Regions from separate parts of the Homo sapiens genome. Here region 2 is linked to region 1. Evidence: promoter capture Hi-C in 16 types of primary human blood cells and fetal thymus (Javierre and others, 2016). All regions are on one chromosome and are shown on one strand. The core of a region is centred on a gene start or on the middle of the fragment in contact, and the rest is flanking DNA. Distances in the headings are between cores, read along the strand shown. Region 1 holds the start of CDHR2 (cadherin related family member 2). Region 2 overlaps FAF2 (Fas associated factor family member 2).

The links. The method cuts DNA at HindIII sites, captures the fragments that hold promoters and counts their contacts. A CHiCAGO score of 5 or more calls a contact.
Region 2: a fragment that was not itself captured here is called in contact with the fragment with the promoter of CDHR2 in region 1 in 4 of 17 cell types (non-activated CD4 T cells, naive CD4 T cells, total CD4 T cells and 1 more); the score reaches 6.0 in non-activated CD4 T cells.

Annotation. Positions count from the first base shown.
Region 1 is chr5:176,547,899-176,550,763 of GRCh38, reverse strand. CDHR2 (cadherin related family member 2) reads right to left here and starts at 1,422. Exons shown (of 32, transcript NM_017675.6): 1 at 1,350-1,422. RefSeq lists an enhancer at 217-1,150. The HindIII fragment of the contact is 9,099 bases long and covers 1,273-2,865 here.
Region 2 is chr5:176,495,993-176,498,692 of GRCh38, reverse strand. FAF2 (Fas associated factor family member 2) reads right to left here. Exons shown (of 11, transcript NM_014613.3): 8 at 2,030-2,207. Among named protein-coding and RNA genes, the nearest start is that of RNF44, 40 kb to the left of the region's middle. The HindIII fragment of the contact is 2,862 bases long and covers 4-2,700 here.

The DNA.
Region 1 (2,865 bases), core at 173-2,672:
GAGGTGGGTCCTCCTTCAGTGTGGGGAGCCCCCGGGGTGCACTCAGCCACGATGCTACAGAGCTCCCCCAGCACCGCCACCGCTACACGGCCAGCTCGCCATGCACTTTCACTTCTGCTTTTTCATTTACTTCTCACAGCTGTTCCCAAGCAGGAATTATCCTATCCTATTATTCCAAGGAAACCGAGGCTCATAGATGCCCAGAGATGGGTGAGCCAGGGGCAGCAGGTTAGACCCAGGCTGCCTCCAAATCCAGGGGTCCCTGGGCAAGCCTTGGTCTGGGCTCCGTTGATCCAGGAGGCCGTGCCTGCACCCACAGAGCGGACTCCAGCCGAGCCTGGGTGCCCGGAGCAAGGATGTGGGACCTGAGCACGCAGCTCCCCGCCACGGGCCCTCCCAGTGCCTATGGCCCAGGCCACCTGGCCCAGCAGACACATACAGACTCAAACAGCCCTGGGTTCAGATGGCAGCATTTCACATATTTGTTGTGCAACCCCAGGCAAGCCCTCTCCCCTCTCCAGGCCTCAGTTTCCCCTGCTGAGAAGCAGAGTGAGGATAAAAATCAAGGGGTCTACACACGGGCCATGACTTGTTTCCATCTGCCGGACCTCGGTGCTCACTGGGACCCTGCCTTGTGCCTGGTGCCCAACCCAGCACAGGCCTGCCTGAGTGACGCAGCATGGCCCCGACTCTCAGCTGGGTCACCACCTCCTCTACCAGGGCAGAGAGATGTGCAAGGCCCGGACTGGGCAGAGCTGGGGCCAGCCTGGGTCAGTCCCTGCCTGACACTTCCTAGCACTGGCTGAGGTGGCACTGGGCTCGGTCATAGGCCACATGCTCACCTTTGCCTCAGGGCTTTTCAGGCCCTTTCTGGAACTCTTCTCATCCCCATTTGATAAATGAGGAAACGGAGGCCCAGAAGAGTTAAGTAGCCCACCAAGGTCAGGGTGGAGCTGGGATGTGAACCGAGCAGCTGGGGTAAGAGCCCAGGTCAGCTTCCCCGTCCTCAACCCCTGAGCATCCTATGAAGGGGTCAGGCCAGTTACCTCGTTTCCCTGGGGTGCCTGCCTCCCTTCCATCCTCTGAAGAATCATCCCTTGAGGACTTGGATGGGAAGGGGGCCATCAGCCCCCAGGGAAGGAGGTATTATTATCCCATGTTTACCAAAGAAACAGGCCTCACAGCAGGCTGGGACCTGACCCGGCTCTGCCCCATCTAGCGTGTGACTTCCCCTGCCCAGCTTCAGGGGAGACTTTTAAAGACCCCCAAGCTTGCCTTGGCTCTAGGGATCCCCCCAACCCCCACATTTCTCTGGCCCAGAGACCCCCGATGAGCTGGATAGTCCCTACCTGTGTCCCCTTCGCCACGGAGGCGGCAGGCAGGCGCCGGACAGGCGCTGGCACACAGGTGGGCACCCTCTGCGGCCTGCAGCTATGTGGCCAGCAGACTTTGGCACCATCTCCACCTCCACTGAGCAATCATTAACCCTGCCAGAGACCACACCTCCCAGGAGGGGTCGACTCCTAATGAGGCAGAGTACAGCTGGGGGCGCCGGACAGGAGGAAGGGACCAAGGCGCCAGAGCTCCTGGCGCTCCTGGGGCTGGAGGCCCACACCACAGGAGAAGGGGCCTGGCCGACCCTGAGCCCAGAGGACCTGGGAACAAGGCCCAACACTGGGGCAGGCTGGAGGCGGGGACGGTGACAGTCAGAAGGTGATGCCAGAGCCCCCGTCCCCTCCCTGCTACGAGTCTTCAGTGACAGGGGATCTGTGGACAAGTGGGGGATTGAGTCAGGAGAGGGAAGTGGTAAAACAGTGTAACAATCAAACACTGTGTGGCCAGACCAGCCCCTGTGAGGTTCTCGTGGAGGACTGGGGGCTAGCTGAGCCTGGACAACCCACTTTCGAGCCTGTTGACACTGATCTCACCCCGCATTGAGACCCTCAAAAGGCATCTGCCCGTCCCCAGGGGCTTCATCCACTCCCAAGTTGCCTTTTTTTTTTAATTATTTATTTATTTTTGAGTCAGAGTCTTGCTCTGTCACCCAGGCTGGAGTGAAGTGGCACAATCTTGGCTCACTGCAATCTCTGCTTCCTGGGTTCAAGCAATTCTCCTACCTCAGCCTCTCGAGTAACTGGGATTACAGGCGTGGGCCTCCACACCCGGCTAATTTTTTTTGTATTTTTAGTAGAAACAGGGTTTCACCATGTTGGCCAGGCTGGTCTCGAACTCCTAACCTCAGGCGATCCGCCTGCCTCGGCCTTCCAAAATGCTGGGATTACAGGGATGAGCCACGGAGCTCGGCCCCCAGGCTGGCTTTAAGCGCTGCCCGATGTGGTGGCCTCCCGAAGGGGCTCAGCCACAAGTCCTTCTTATCCTCACTTTGGCCCAGCCATCACAGTTGACACAGAAAGGGGACCCTGGGCACAACTTTCTTAAGGCACACCACTGAGTCGTCACCATTGGGTGGCCCTCTTCTTGTGGGCAGAGGACATGTCTAATTCACAATAGATATATAGTCATGCACCATATATCTGTGTTTTGGTCAACAACGAACCACACATATAATAGCGGTCCCATAAGAGTATAATATCATCTTTCATGGCACCCTTTCTGTGTTTACATGCACAAATACTTACCCCTGTGTTACAGTTGCCTGCAGCGTGCGGTACAGTCCCAGGCTGCATAGGTTAGCAGCCCAGGAGCACAGGCGGTGGTATAGAGACTGGGTGTGTAGTAGGTGGTACCGCCTAGGTTTGTGTAAGTCACTGTGTGATGTTCACACAATGACGAAATTGCCTGATGACACATTTCCCAGAAGGTGTCCCCGTTGTTAAGGGTTGTGTTGACTGTATATCAGGCAGT
Region 2 (2,700 bases), core at 185-2,684, 52 kb after region 1:
GCTTTCCTCTCCTCTTTTAAAATAAAACTTTTCCCCTAATTCTAACAAATGTGACACAGTACTGTTATTATGAAGGGATCATCAATATCATATTTTACAAGTAAATACCATTTTGGGTGACTGCATTTTTGTACTGATCTCATAAAACCAAAACACACACATATATATCCATACACACATTGTAGCAGATCTGAAAATGTAGAGTTTTCAGAGTCATTCAGAGAATCACTAATCAAAGATAAAACATTATAACATTTGGCATATCTCCTATTTTCTCTCCAACAAATTTCTGTTTTCTCTTAGCCAAAATATTTAGCCAATCAAAATAGTTGAACAGATTTTATCTTTAAAAATTAAGATAAAATTTACATGCAGTGAAATGCACAGATCTTAAATGTACAATTCAATGAATTTTGATAAATGTAACCATGTAATCACCACTCCAATCAAGACAGAACATTTCAGTTACCTCGGAAAGTTTCCTGTTCTATACATTTTTTTACACAGTTAAAATAACGCTATTATTTACAGGATTTTGATCTTGCATTTTTCTTTTTTTTTGGAGACAGGGCTAGCCTGTCACCCAGGCTAGAGTGCAGTGGTGCGATCATGACTCACTGCAGCCTCAACCTCCTAGGCTAAAGCAATCCTGCCACCTCAGCTTACAGGCGTGTGCCACCACGCCTAGCTAATTTTTGTATTTTTTGTAGAGATGGGGTTTCACCATGTTGCCCGGGCTGACCTCAAACTCCTGAGTTCAAGCAATCTTCTTACCTCAGCCTCCCGAAATGCTCGGATTACAGGTATGAGCCAACATGCTCGGCCTGATTCTGCATTTTTCTAATATGTAACAAGCATGTCCCCATGTTATTAAAAACTTTCCATAAAATTTAAGTTTGTTTAACTTTCTTGAGGGCAAGTTGGCATTACAAATCAAGAGCCTTAAAATATACTTATATTGATTGTCTCACCCAGAAACTGCACTTCCAGGAATTTAAATTTTAATCTAAGGAAACCATCACAAATTGCAAAAAATTATCTCCCTATATGCTAATTATAATAGTAACAAACCGAAAATAATCTAAAAATCCAACGAGAGTGGCCTGGTTAAATTATGATGTATTTAGATAATGGAATGTTATGCAGTAATTTTTAAAATGTGGCAGAATATTTAATGATGAGGGAAAAGGCCGTGATATATTCTTACATAAAGAAGGGTTGTAAAAAAGTATTATCCCAATTTTACAAATAAATGTGTACGTATATAGGGGTGTGTGTTGTGTATAAAATTAAAAAAATTTATAACAATGTTCAAGTGGTGGTAGGTTTATCAGTGATCTTAAATTTCTTCCTTGTGCTTTTTTGTGGTTTTAGGATTTCCTATAATTAATGTACATAACTTATGTAATGGAGAGGAATTATAACCATTCCACTTTTTTTTTTACATCGAAGTTCTTTATATTATATTCAGCTATTCTAAATGCCACAATATACATTCTTGAGCACAGAGGCCTGTCTTTGTTTATTCATTCATTTATTATTTTTTAAAGACAGAGTCCTGCTCTGTCATCCAGGCTGGAGTGCAGAGGCACAATCAGAGCTCACTGCTGCCTCGAACTCCTGGCCTCAAGCAATCCTCCTGCCTCGGGCTCCCAAGGACCTGGGACTACAGGCATGTACCACCATGCCTAGCTAATTTTTTCTTATTTTTTGTAGAGATGGGGTCTCGCTTTGCTGCCCAGTCTGGATTCAAGTAATCCTCCTGCCTCAGCCTCCTAACGTGCTAGGATTTCAGGTGTTAGCCACTGCACCCAGCCCTTGTCTTTATTTTGAACATCTCTAAGAACAGATTACCTGATATAGAGTAATTTAGGTCAAAGTATGTAAATATTTTGACAATAAATGGGCAAAGCTAAAAGCTAATAGCGGCCTGATGCACAGAAGAAGTCAGGATTGGTAGAGCCCCAGAGGTCAGCCCTCCAAATTTACAACTGGTCTCTCTCTGTTCCAGAAGGGAACTCCCTTGTACCTTTCTAGGCGTTCTGACACCAGGTAAGTCTGGTTAGCATCCATGATAAATGTCAGTTGGTTAATGAGGTCATCAGGTTGAATGAGGCCTTCTAGCCGTCCCACCACAGTCATCCTTCGATCCTTCAGCATAATCATGGCCAGGAATGGATAGGTGTTCTCTCGTAAAGCCTGTGAGACTGATAAAAAGACCCAACAGATCAAGGGCAGGACTTGACGGTGAAAAAGATCAACCCTTAGACTTTCCACAATGAGTGAGAGAGAACTGTTTTAATCCTGGTTGGGGAAGACGAGAGGTATCATTTAGTCTCCGCTTTTTCCCCGCCTCCTAGTTTCTTTCTTTTCTTTTTTTGAGCCAGGGTCTCACTATGTTGCTCAGGCTGGTCTCCAGCTCCTGGGCTCAAGTGACCCTCCCACCTCAGCCTCCTGAGAAGCAGGGATTACAGGAGTGTGCCACCATGCCCAGTTCCTCCCAGTTTTGTAATCTTTTGTTTTTGTTATCAATTTGCATGCCTATCCCTAGGTGCTTGACTAGAATAGGACAGGCTTTCCTGGTGGCGGTGTGGTTGTTGTGATGATGCCAGGGAAGGCTGCAGAGTTTAAGGATAATGTCTACTTGATGGTACAAAAAGGATCTATAAAGAATCTGGCACAGTTTTTCCCTGTACAAGG